Linked DNA regions of Homo sapiens: regions 2 and 3 are each linked to region 1. The links are contacts of gene promoters, found by promoter capture Hi-C in blood cells and fetal thymus (Javierre and others, 2016). All regions are on one chromosome and are shown on one strand. The core of a region is centred on a gene start or on the middle of the fragment in contact, and the rest is flanking DNA. Distances in the headings are between cores, read along the strand shown. Region 1 holds the start of PIGO (phosphatidylinositol glycan anchor biosynthesis class O). Region 2 overlaps SPATA31F3 (SPATA31 subfamily F member 3). Region 3 has its middle 12 kb from the start of SPATA31F3.

Evidence for each region. Contacts are between HindIII fragments. The CHiCAGO score rates a contact against its expected background, and 5 or more counts as called.
Region 2: a fragment that was not itself captured here is called in contact with the fragment with the promoter of PIGO in region 1 in 11 of 17 cell types (M1 macrophages, naive B cells, total B cells and 8 more); the score reaches 8.9 in M1 macrophages.
Region 3: a fragment that was not itself captured here is called in contact with the fragment with the promoter of PIGO in region 1 in 12 of 17 cell types (naive B cells, naive CD4 T cells, total B cells and 9 more); the score reaches 12.0 in naive B cells.

Annotation. Positions count from the first base shown.
Region 1 is chr9:35,095,341-35,099,647 of GRCh38, forward strand. It overlaps PIGO (phosphatidylinositol glycan anchor biosynthesis class O), which reads right to left and starts at 1,251. Exons shown (of 11, transcript NM_032634.4): 1 at 815-1,251; 2 at 1-226. The coding sequence starts at 225. PIGO-AS1 (PIGO antisense RNA 1) reads left to right here and starts at 964. Exons shown (of 2, transcript NR_186491.1): 1 at 964-1,080; 2 at 2,420-2,804. RefSeq lists an enhancer at 918-1,257. The HindIII fragment of the contact is 7,045 bases long and covers 1-4,307 here.
Region 2 is chr9:34,887,487-34,891,793 of GRCh38, forward strand. SPATA31F3 (SPATA31 subfamily F member 3) reads right to left here. Exons shown (of 5, transcript NM_001309427.2): 5 at 1,580-2,146. The coding sequence ends at 1,878. It also overlaps a transcript of PHF24 not described here. Among named protein-coding and RNA genes, the nearest start is that of SPATA31F3, 6.1 kb to the right of the region's middle. The HindIII fragment of the contact is 1,939 bases long and covers 1,484-3,422 here.
Region 3 is chr9:34,905,354-34,909,660 of GRCh38, forward strand. It overlaps a transcript of PHF24 not described here. Among named protein-coding and RNA genes, the nearest start is that of SPATA31F3, 12 kb to the left of the region's middle. The HindIII fragment of the contact is 3,602 bases long and covers 261-3,862 here.

The sequences.
Region 1 (4,307 bases), core at 1-2,500:
TATCAGCACCAACACAACCCGCGAAAATCGGGAAGCCATCCAGCAGGCCCCAGGTTTCCCTTGGCTCCCCCATGGCAGGGACCCAGGGCCTGGGGGCTCTTGGCAGCTGCTATGGTTGGTGAGCTCCAAACGGGTGAGCAGGAAGCCACTGGTGAAGAGGGCAATGCCAGCGTAGAAGAGGAAGCAGACCCAGGCCAGGAAGAGCAACACTGAGGCTTTCTGCATCCTGATAGGGGTGGGGAAGTAAATTCATTACTGTGGGGCAAAGAACCAGTGGATATTCTGGTCCCTGAATACAAGCCCAGCTAGAATCACTTCCTCCCGGAAACCTTCCTGGAGATAAACCATTTCACAGCCAACCCCTCGCAATATTACTCTCCTCCTATTTCCAGGCTGGGCATGGTGGCTCACGCCTGTAATCCCAGCACTTTGGGAGGCCGAGGCGGGCGGATCACCTGAGGTGAGGAGTTCGAGACCAGCCTGGCCAAAATGGCGAAACCCCGTCCCTACTAAAAATACAAAAATGGGTGGCGGGCACCTGTAGTCTCAGCTACTGGGGAGGCTGACGCAGGAGAATCGCTTGAATCGGGGAGGCGGAGGTTGCAGTGAGCCGAGATTGAACCACTGCACTAGAGTCTGGACAACAGAGGGAGACGCCGTTTCATGAGGTCCCACCCCAGATCTACTGAATCAGGATCTTCGAGGGGTAGAGCATAGGAACGTTCACATGTACAGGCAGGAAATGCTAATGCTGCCTGTACATGTGAACAGTCAGGAGGGAAACTTATTCCAATTGGTAGTCAGGCTCTCTTACACGCCGTTTCTGCGCCTCTCCCCTCGCCAATCTCAATACCCAGTGGAAAGGGATCGAAGCCGCAGGGGAATCCGGGCCCAGCCGACGGCGCCGCCTGGCGGGCACCGAGGGGACGAAGGGGAGGAGTCACTCTCCGCTTCCGGGCGGCCAGGTTCGCCAGGAGACCTGAGGCACGACCTTCGCCACGCAAGGAGGCTGGGGCCCGGGTCGAGAGTCGACTGGGCCTCCGCTGGGACCCAGGCGTGCGACCGGCTCTGCCTCCTCCGGTAACTACCCAGCCTCCCGCTGGGCACCCTAGCCGCGGTACTGAGCACCTTGGTTAGGAGCTGAGGGGAAGAGGGAGACTCCCTTACTTCAGGGTGAGGGGAATACCGGGGGGTGAGGTTCTCGGGAGACCCTGGCTCACCTGCAATGGCACCCGGAAGTGCGGCGGCGGCGGCGCCTGCGACCTGGCAGCACAGAGATGCGTGCGCCAGACAGAGTGGCCCGTCGGTGGCTCCATCGCCATCTGCCGGCACCTCGGTGGAAGTTTGGCCAGGAGCGTGGGGCTGGCCCCAGTTTGATGGGATATTTAGTAATTGAAAATTGGGGACAGGGGACCAAGCTGGAGGAAGAGTTCAGGGAACCACTGTCCATTCATGGTTACGACTAAGAGCACGGCTGCTGGAGTCAAACTTGACTTGAATCCTAGCTTGGCCGCACATATTGTCATCATTAGGCATTACCTCATCTGTAAAATGGAGATAATACTTATTTTCCCTTTTTTGCTTAGCTGAGTCCAACTGAGATTTCATTACTCCTCCTTTCAAAGCCTGTAACTAAATCTTACGACTGAATAATTAAGCAAATAATCCTTCGGAGTGGAGGAGGGGAGGCTGGGCCCAGTGGTTCACACCTGTAATCCCAGCACTTTGGGAGGTCAAGGCAGGTGGATCACCTAAGGTCAGGAGTTCAAGACCAGCCCGGCCAATATGACGAAACGCCGTCTCTACTGAAAATACAAAAGTTACCCGGGAGTGGTGGCGGGCGCCTGTGATCCCAGATACCTGGGAGGCTGAGGCAGGAGAATCACTCGAACCCAGGAGGCAGAGGTTGCAGTGAGCCGAGATTGCACCACTGCACTCCAGCCTGGGCAACAGAGCAAGACTCCCTCTCAAAAAAAAAAAAAAAAATGCCAGGCACGATGACTCACACCTGTAAGCCCAGCACTTTGGGAGGCTGAGGCTGGAGAATCAGTTGAAGTCAGGAATTGGAGACCAGCCTGGCCAACATGCTGAAACCCCAACTCTACTAAAAATTACAAAATTTAGCCAGGCGTGGCGATGTGTACCTGTAGTCCCAGCTACTGAGGAGGCTGAGACTGGACAATTGCTTGAAGCCAGGAGGCAGAGGCTACAGTGAGCTGAGATCGTGCTACTGCACTCCAGCCTAGGCAACAGAGCAAGACTCTGTCTCAAAAAGAAACAAAACCCGTCCACTGGTTTCTCATCTCAGAGTAAAAGTTCTTGCATTGGCTCTACATGGCCCTGCACACTATCTGCCTCTTCCCCTTCTGATTCATCTAGCTGCCACTTCTTTGCTTCCCTAACTCTGTTCCATCCACAGCAGTTCTGCCTCAGGACCTTTGCATTTGCCATCTCCTCTGTCAGCTTCAGTTCCCGATGCCGAAATGGATCTCCATCACCTTCATATTGAAGCTCAACTGTAACATCAGCAAGGCTTCCTGCAATCCCCTACTTTACTAGTTCAGCACCTCCCACCACCACACCCCCTGGAAAAATTTCCCCTCACTTCCTTAATTTCTTCCATAGCACAACTCATCAGCATCTGAAATTCTACACGTATTTATGGTTTATCCCCTCCGAGTAGAATGTGAGCTCATTGAGGTCAGGGAATTCTGTTTTCTTCATGATATCCTCAGCACCTAGCATATATTTGAGGTTCACATACTGACCAAACGAATAAAGGAATATGTTAATTTTTAAAAAAAGTTGAGTTATTCTTCCACCTTCATCCCCATAGCCCCTTATCTCAGTTCAGACCTCATCCCTTCTCCAGGATCACTGAGGCAGCCTTCTCACTGTCCTCCCAGCCTCCTGTGTCTCCCTACTATCCCTTCTCCACATTGCAGCAAGACAGCTCTAACTAAAACATTAATGTGATTACTGTTATTTTTTTCTTTTTTGTAGAGATAGGGTCTTACCATGTTGCCCAGGCTGGTCAACTCCTGGGCTCAAGTGATCCTCCCACCTCAGCCTCCCAAAGTGCTGGGATCACAGGTATGAGTCACTGTGCCTGGCCAATGTGATGTTTTATCTTAAAATTCTTCATGGGAAGGGAAAAAAACCCTTCATAGGCCGGGCACAGTGGCTCACGCCTGTAATCCCAGCACTTTGGGAGGCTCAGGCGGGCAGATCACGAGGTCTGGAGTTCGAGATCAGCCTGACCAACATGGTGAAACCCTGTCTCTACAAAAAACAAAAAAATTAGCCAGGTATGGTGGCGCATGCCTGTAATCCCAGCTACTAAGGAGGCTGAGGCAGGAGAATTGCTTGAACCCGGGAGGCGGAGGTTGCAGTGAGCCGAGATCATGCCATTGCACTCCAGCCTGGACAACAGAGGGAGACGCTGTCTCAAACAAACAAACAAAAAAACCCTATTACCCTAGGGATAATGTCCAACCCCTTCAACAAGAATCTCATTCCTTGTGACTTGGCCCTTGCCATGTAGTCACATCCCCCTTAACACTATACCCTTCAGCCAACTTCTCTCAAGCAGTGAGCCTTTGTTTATTCTAGTCCAGGACCTGACTTGGTGAAAACTTGCTAACTTTTCCAGCCTGAGTTCAGTGGCAATCAGCAACGCTGCTACTCATAAGCTGATATGCTCTTCCCACCAAGATCCCTCAGCCAGAACTTTCCTCTACCACAGCATTTATCACTTTTTTTTTTTTTTTTAACAGAGTGTCTCACTGTTGCCAGGCTGGAGTGCAATGGCGTGATCACGGCTCACTGCAGCCTCCACCTCCCAGGTTCATGCAATTCTCCTGCCTCAGCCTCCCAAGCAACTGGGACTACCCGCACATGCTACCACGCCCAGCTAGTTTTTGTATTTTTAGTAGACGGGGTTTCACCATATTGGCCAGGATGGTCTCAATCTCCTGACCTCATGATCTGCACACCTCAGCCTCCCAAAGTGCTGGGATTACGGGTGTTGAGCCACCACGCCCGGCCACATTTATCACTTTCTATCACTGTCTGCTTCCTGTCTGTTTTCCCTACCTGACCTTGTATTCTGTGAAAGCAGGGACCACTGGGTTTCAGGTATTTTTGTAATCCAGTGTCTAGTAATGAGCTTGGCACTTGGTAGACATTCAATGTTTTTGAATAAATGAATGAGGAGCACCCTCAGTCCCTGAAAACCCTTTAAGTATGCCAGTGCAGGGTAGTAGTTTCTCATGAAAGTACTTCTTTCCCACGAAAAAACCCCCAAA
Region 2 (4,307 bases), core at 1,203-3,702, 210 kb before region 1:
TTTAGGTTCACTGGCTTCCTTGTTCCTTCTGACAGGCTGGGCATCCTCCAACCTCCAGGCATCTGCATTAGCTGTAATTTCTGACTGGAATGCTCTTCCTCGTTTACCCACGTGGTTTACTCGCTTATCACCCTCAAGTCCTTGCTGACATTTTAATTTCCTAGTGATACCTTCCCTGAGCTCCTTATTTAAAACTGTATCCCTTTTGAAGTCTTCTCTAATCCCATTACCCTGATTTTTTTGCATATATCTGGTCACCTTCTATATACTATGTTTTTTATTTATACTTCTTTTCTCTTCCTCCCAGGCATGCTCCCAACGTAAGTTCCTTGAGAGAGCAGATTTTTTTTTCCTCTTATGTTCACTGCTGTATTCCCAGTGCCTATAAAAGTGCCTGGCATATAATAGGTGCTCAATATTTATTGAAGGAATGAAGAATGGGTGAAAGAATGCCATTCATTCTCCAGCTTGGCAACCTCATTCTGATCCCTTAAACATTTTACTGTGTTTTTTTTTTAATTATTATACAGGGGTTTCTCCAGTGAGTCACTATTCTCTGACACGGCATGCTGTTGTTTGATGCCATGCCTCTGTTCATGTTGTACTCTCAGCCTGGGAAAGCCTCTCTACTCCCTACCTCCTTCCCAACTAATGCCTGCTCATCCTTTAGAACTCAACTTACATATCATCTCTTCTAGGAAACTTTCCGTGAACATTCCCCAAAACTAGATTAAGTGCCCTCCTATGTACTTTCATCTTATTGCTTCTAATGACTTTTTATATGACTGTCTATCCCAGAGTTCATGAGCTTTTTCAGACAAGGCCTGTGTATCGTTCACTGTTATCTCTGTAGTGCCTGGCATAGTGCCTGCCACATAGCAAGTACTTGAATATTTGAATTGTTGAATGCAAGACTCAGCCCAAAGTTGTTTTTATTGTGACCCTTTTAGGGATCTCTTCATCAACTAGTCTTCATTCTAGGCAGCATTCTTTCCATGCAAATGAAAGGCAATGGAGGTTGGAACAGGCAACAGGACTAGAGTGGGCTCTCAGTTGGGTTACCCTTAAAGATCTCAGTAACAACAGAGAAAAGACAGGGAGATTCTATCATCTGGTTTTGACATCTGTCATATTAGCTGTGTGCTTTTGATAAACATTCCTAAAGGAAGGAGCACCATGGCACTCTAAAGGACCTTCCCTCCAGGTTGTCAGCATATACTGTATAGAAGTCATCAATGAATTTTGCCTGTGGGCCAAAAATGCATTAGATTCCTGGCCACTGCTTCTTATACTGTCGCCATGTCCACATTCCTCCTCTGAGCCCAACACACCATGGGACAATAGAATTCAAGCCTGACCTTTTCTTTCAATGCACCTAAAACAAGGGCCTTTCTTCTCTGTCAAGTCCCTTTATCCACATTCTAGGGTGGGGCTGGGAGGAGTCATGTGGAATGCTGACCCATCTGAAATAAAATGTGATTTAAGCTTCTATACCACATAAGAAGTACTTTTTAGGTCCTTTACTCTCTCTGTCTATCATATACCACATTGAAAATGAGGAGGCACAAACAGGTGGCTCTTTGCTTAAAGGTACAAAGTATATTTGGAGAATGCCCTGCTTCACCTGCATGTTAATGGAAATGGCAATGAAAGCCTTTTTCAGGGGATTGCAGAGGTTCAGGAACCTATGAACTCCTTTTTCTTGTGATGGGTATTCTTGCATAAAACAGTGCCTTCTGCTGAGGTGAGTTAGACCTGGGATAGATTTCCTGGTTGAGTGGCACAAGTCATTTGAGGACAGAGTTTGGAGCATTTGTAGGAGTGGCACAGGACCCAGGATTGGCTGGACTGAAGGGAGTGTTGCTAGAGCAGATTATTTAGGCACTGGGGGCATCACAGAAGATCAGGCCTTCCTCCTCAGTAGAAGGAGGCTGAGCCTCAGGGTCCTCTGTTGTCTTCTGTGTTGTAGCTCCCCACACATGATCTTTGGTGACAGTTGGACTCTTCTCAATGTTTTTTGTCCTGTCTTGGGTCACTGTCTCAGCCTTAGAAAGGAGAATGGATTCCTCATGCCTTCGATCTTTCATTTCAGGGTTAATCCAGTGCAGAAACAGCTTCATCTTGTTATCCAAGCCAACTTCTGGAGCTTCTGGAAGGATGATGCTCTTGTGAGTATGGACTGCCCTTACCAGACCCTGCAACTCTTAGCCCTAGAAAGTGTGGCCCTGCAAATTTTGACCCTGCAAATTTTGCCCTGTAAAACATGGCCCTGAACTATTTGACCCTGAAAACTTTGGATCTGAAAAAAATTTACCCCTTCAAATACTGTACTTGCAAAATTTTGGCCCAGCAAGTAATGGCCCAGTAAGTTGGCCCTTTAAGCTCTGGGCACTCCCGGTTTGGCATTCTCAGAAATCCTTGTTTGGATGAGGTTATTCGGCTTACTCTAACAGCTTTGCAAATTATTCTTATCTGGTCCTTTTGCCCCAAGTAATCCTGGAGGATGCTCTTGGAACTCAAGGTTATGGAGAAGCTGGTGAAACAGCAATAGCCAGTACTGAGAGGATGGAAATGGGGCTCCGCAGATCCAGACAGATCCTTGCTAGTCTCTGCTCAAGGCAACCATCTTAGCTAAACTAAAGTTTTACCTAAGAAAGATCCTGGAGATATATTTGGCAAGTTGTGAGCTCTGGAGTTCTGCTTAGAAGTGCCCCTACTCGCCCCTGAACCTTGGCAGAAAGGGTGTTCTCTCTGGCTGGGGAGAGCTCCAGTGCTGTCCAGACACCCCCTTCTCTGTGATTTCCAGCTGCTTTGAATGTCATCAAATGTCACTGGGTCAACTGTTTTCTCTGCTGGGGTAGGGACTTGTCCTCACTTTTGCAAAGACCTGGTCTAAGGGGCTTAGGGCCCTCCAGGCTGGGTTGTTCACTCTAGCCTCCAGCTGAACACAAAGTACCTGGGCCTCTGTCATGTCTCCACTGGGTGTGAGATCCCAGAATCCCAGTGGGCATGGGGTACTGCTATGGAACTAGATCACTTGTAGCTCTGCTGCACTGTCTTTAGTTCAACGGCAAGCTGTTCTTTCAGTCCAACCCCTTCTGGATCTGGGGCCCATGGGATGCCTGGTGGGATATGAAGTTTCTGGAGTAATGTTTTCCCTTGGTTTAGCAATCTTTAGACTCCTAAAGGATCCCTGTGTGGAGATATTCTTTGGGATGGTGAAAATTTGTTCCCTGGATTCCCTTGTTTTTATGGGACTTCCCAAATGTATCTCAAGGAATTTATTTTTCAGGTAGAAATTTAGTTTGGCCAAGATGGGTGCCTTGAGTGATTAGGGGCTGTGAGGATCTGTCTGCCTCTCTAGCGGTACCATCTCCATCAGCTTGTGTTTTAGTGCAGAACACTTGTACGTTATCTACACAAGCTTCATTGGTGTTTTGAAAGCATGGCCCAGGACTTACACATTGCTGTTCAGATGAGATTGAGTCAGAGGCTCTGATGGGCTCAATCTGTGATTGTGGATTCGTGAGTGATTGCCTGGGCCACAGCCCTGGAAAGAGCCACATAATAGAGAGCAGGCAGCCCTGACAGAAGGGCCAAAACTTGTCTCAAGTTTCTCAGTGGCTTCCTGGGACAGGGTCTGGGCAGCTCAGGATCATCAGTAACAGCATCTGGCAAGCCCTGTTGCTGCTGATCAAGGCCTGTCAGTATTCAGAGTGTCCTTTCCTGATCTGTGTAGGGGCTGATATGTGTCACTTCCAGGTCCAGGTGTTTGCTTTTCAGAGGACAGGGGCGCCAAGTTGCTTCCCAGGCCTTTGGAATACTGCAGAACCAGTGATTTGTAGTCCCAACAATGGCAGATATGGGCAGGGACAATGCCCTAGCAGATCTTCCCATATTTGTAATCTATGTGGCTCTGCAACATTACCTTGGCCTGAGGAAACAATTGCGGACTGGCCCTCCTGCCACAGTGGATCAGAGAAGGCCACTATTCCCACTAGCTTCTGGTGCTGCATGCTGGGAAGACCCACATAGGTCAGGGCTGTACTGCTCCAGGGCAGGGATTATTGGTCATCAGGTCACAGGATGAACTGGATAGACTGCTGGATCTTTTGGATCAGGTCCCAGCAATGACAAATCAACCCTCTGTTTCAATTGCTCCTGGAGGTGGAATCCTAGCAGCCTCTGGGCATGGTCTAGGAGAATGCTTCCTCCCTCTTGAGGACTGAAATGGACTTCCCCAATCAAAGAGTGTCCTGGATCTAGTGGGAAAGGCTGCAACATGTCTCAGGGCTTACATTGTATGA
Region 3 (4,307 bases), core at 812-3,311, 190 kb before region 1:
TTTCCCTGTTAGCTAAAAGTGGTGTTCATTAAAACCTATTTGTTGAATAAAACACTGTAGGGGATATAAAAGTATGTAGAAGTGAATTCTGATAACTTAAAAGTTACATGCTTTCAGCATAGTGGGAAATAATAGGTATCTATACAATAATACGGTATCTGAGAGTATGTGGTATATAATCTCCTTATAAATATTATATAAAGTTGCTATATAAATCTCCTGTAAAGGGGAGATTATTTTTGGCTGAAGTGATCTGGGAAAGCTTCATGTAGAAGATGGCATTCAAGCTGGTGCTTGAAGCTGAGAGAGGATTTTAATATGTGGAGTTGGAAGAGGGAGTGATCCAAAATGCAGGAATCAACATGCATAAACTGCTGGTGTCTCTGTGTAATGATAACATGCAGAAATAACAGAAGGATTCCTGAAATATTTATTTTACTCTGAGTGCATTTTATTTTGTATATATTTGATCTTAATTAACTGAGTTTTAGATTTTATTTTGTCTTCGTGTGGAAACTGGGGTTGTGGATATCTCCTCATGGGAATGTTTTTCTGTGTCACGTGGACATGAACTGTGGAGATGGGTCTTCAGAACCTGACCATATGTGTTTCTAGGTATAAACGTCTGTGTGGGTGCATTTCTCTACACAGATTTTTTGGTCTTTGTGGGTGTGTGCACATGCAGTCCTGAGGGTTGAGAAGGAAAGACAGGAAGGATTAGAGGGGAGAAACAGGGAGGGGGGAAAGGAAGTGAGAAGTTGTTGAGGGTGTTGGGGCTGTTAGTGGAAAAAAATAGACTCTGAAAATATTTTAAAGAGGTTTATTCTGAGCCAATATGAGTGACCATGGCCTGGGTAACATAGTCTCAAGAGGTCCTGAGAAAGTGTGCCTGCCTCAGTTGGATTACAATTTGGTTTTATACATTTTAGGGAGGCAGAAGTTACAGGCAAGGTCATAAATCAGTACATGAAGGGTATACATTGGTTCAGCCCAGAAAGGCAGGATGTCTTGAAGCAGATCTTACACGTTATACATGGATTGAGAGATTCTTTAATTTACAAGTGGTTAAAGGTGTAAAGTTTTGTCTAAAAATTTGGAGTCAGCAGAAAGGAATCTTAAGTTTCATTGTGCTTTGACATGGTGCTTCCTTCCTGATGCTTTGACATGGTGAGGCCTTAAAAGCTGCCTCAGAATGCAGGTGAATCGCTTGAACCCAGGAGGCAGAGTTTGCAGTGAGCCGAGATCACGCCACTGCACTCTAGCCTGGGCAATGGAATGAGACTCCATCTCAAAAAAAAAAAAAAAAAAAAGCTGCCTCAGAATCAAGATCCCTAACCCTAACCCCTAACTCTTTTATTCCCCCCACTCAAAGTGCAGGGAGGGACTCTCTTGGAATTTCCTTATCTAAACAAGTAACTTTGTTTCCAAAAGAAATGCAATGCAGTTGTCTGAAATCCCCTCCATAGGGATTCAAATAACCAGGAAAGATCAACCACTGGAGAAGAGAAGAAATTGGGTGTCATCACCACACCCAGACACACTATTTTTAAAGAGAAGACTCTTGCTCTGTTGTCCAGGCTAGAGTGCAGTGGTGTGATTATAGCTCACTGTAGGTGAGCACCACCCCACCCCTCTAATTTTTATTTTATTTTCATAGAGACAGGTTGTCTACTATATTGCCCAGGCTGGTCCCAAACTCCTGGCCTCAAGGGATCCTCCCTCCTTGGCCTCCCAAAGGGCTAGGACTACAGTTGTGAGCCACTTTGCTGATCCAGATTTTTCATCTGTTCTGCTGATGGTAGCCCCAAGAGATCACCCAGGGAACTTTATCTGTGTAGGACAACCTTTGTTCCCGTGTAGCTCTACCTCTCACTTTCCCTTAACGTAGGCCTCCCAACTCCTGGGTCCATTCATTCTCCCTAATGACTTACTGCCCCTCAAAGGAATTGTTGACATTCCTTATTTCCTACTGTCCATGAAAAAGGATATGTAAATTTCTGTACCACACTGGGTTATTCAGTAATAATTACTCTATTAATCATCCCCTCCCTCATGCACATTAATAAACTTGTATGCCTTTTCACCTATTAATCTGCTTTTTGTCGGTTGATTTTCATAGACCCTTCTAAAGGTGAAGGGACATTTCCCCTTTGCCACCTAGAAGGGGAACCTCTGCTCTGAAGACGAAGTGTGGTTTCATATAGTTAGTATTTTACATAATTGATAATTGATTGTCCCGTAGATCACAGATACTCCTTTCCTGTAATACAACATTTATCGGTAAAAGGCTAGTGCTTCAAAATGCCATCTTTTCTTTCATCCATTGCACTCTATCTCTTTTCATTGGTCCAGTCTTTCATCCAATTTAATCCTCTTTTTGGATTGTCTTTGTTTAGTTTTTTTTCCCCTTTTTCTTATCCTTCCAGTTTGATTTCTTTCTTCGCTGTAGTTTTGGGGTTTTGTTTTTTGTTTTTTGTTTTGTTGCTTTGTTTTGTTTTGTTTCCCCCAAGATGGAGTCTTGCTCTGTCACCCAGGCTGAAGTGCAGTGGCATGATCTCGGCTCACTGCAACCTCCACCTCCCAGGTTCAAGCAATTCTCCTGCCTCAGCCTCCCGAGTAGCTGGGATTACAGGTGCCCGCCACCACACCTGGCTAATTTTTGTATTTTTAGTAGAGATGGGGCTTCATCATGTTGGTCAGGCTGGTCTCGAACTCCCGACCTCGTGATCTGCCCGCCTCGGCCTCCCAAAGTGCTGGGATTATAGGCGTGAGCTGCCACACCCGGCCTCTTCACAGTAGTTTTCACCTGCTGTAAGTTTTCTCTTCTAGCTTATGGAACTAATACCATACCCCAGAAACAAATGTTTTGTAATTGAGGAAGGGGCACTTCTTGTTGTAAGGATATTTTAGGCTCCATTTAAGGCTTTTGTCTTCACTGCCACTGCCATAGACAATTCATTGATCCCTCAAATTTAAATTGGGTACATTTGTTTATGTGAAAGGCATTGTTATAGTCAAGACGGAAACAGAAAAAAAAATCCCTCTGGGAGCTTTCATTCTAGTGGAAGGAGAGAGAAAGCAAACAAATAGGAAAATATGTAGTATGTTAGATGGTGATAAGTGCAGTGGAGAAAAATAAAGAAGAGACTAAGTCAAGAGTATAAACAAGATTTGTCATTTTTAATAGGTGGCAAGGGGAGGTCTGAGAAGATGATATTGGAGCAAAGACCAGTAGGAGATAAGGGAGCAACTCATGCATGTCTCTGGGAAAAGGGAACAGGAAACATCTATAGGGAGAAGACAGGTAAAGATCCAATAAGACAGTCCCTCAAGCCAGTACACAAGGGGTTGAGGACTTCAGAAAGCCTCCATAGTATGGTGTCCTTTGGACAGACTTTGTCTCGGGTCACCACTTCAAATCCTTATAAGGACTTCTTTCTCAATCTTATTTTATCTTACCTCATCCTTTTTTTCTTTTCTTTTCTTTTCTTTTTTTTTTTTTTTCTTTTTTTGAGACAGAGTCTCACGTCGTCGCCTGGGCTGGAGTGCAGTGGTGCGATCTTGGCTCACTCCAACCTCCACCTCCCAGGTTCAAGCAATTCTCCTGCCTCAGCCTCCCAAGTAGCTGGGATTACAGGGTGCCTGCCACCATGCCCGGCTAATTTTTTGTATTTTTAGTAGAGATGGGGTTTCACCATGTTGGTCAGGCTGGTCTCAAACTCCTGACCTTGTGGTCCACCTGCCTCAGCCTCCCAAAGCGCTGGGATTACAGGTGAGCCACCATGCCCGGCCCCCTTTTTCTCTTTTTTAAGAGATGGGGTCTCACTATGTTGACTAGGCTGGCCTCGAACTCTCAGGCTCAAGCTTCCTAAACAGCTGGGATTGCAAGAGCACACCGCTATACCTGGCTCTTCCCTTATCTTATCTTTGTGTCTTTGGGGACTAATTTGTTTAGTTTTGTCTGCCCAACTTGGGAGGTTTAGCTAGCCTGTCATCAGTGGCAGCCTGGCCTTTGGCCAAGCTCTGGACAAGCACCATCCTATGGACCATTGACATTTCACGTGTTCTGCCTCATCCCAAACTGAGCCTCATCTAGGCCAAATGCTCAATTCCTGTATGGTTTCTCACTATCACATTATCTTGTATGCTTCTCTGTCTGTCACAATTTTACCAGGGACCGTTTGCAATTGCAGCAAACACTTAAGTGAACTATTTACAGAGACTACTTTGTTCTTTTGAGAGGTACCTTAGAACATAAAGAGAAGAAATCCTTTTTTTTTTTTTTTGAGACGGAGTCTCGCTCTGTC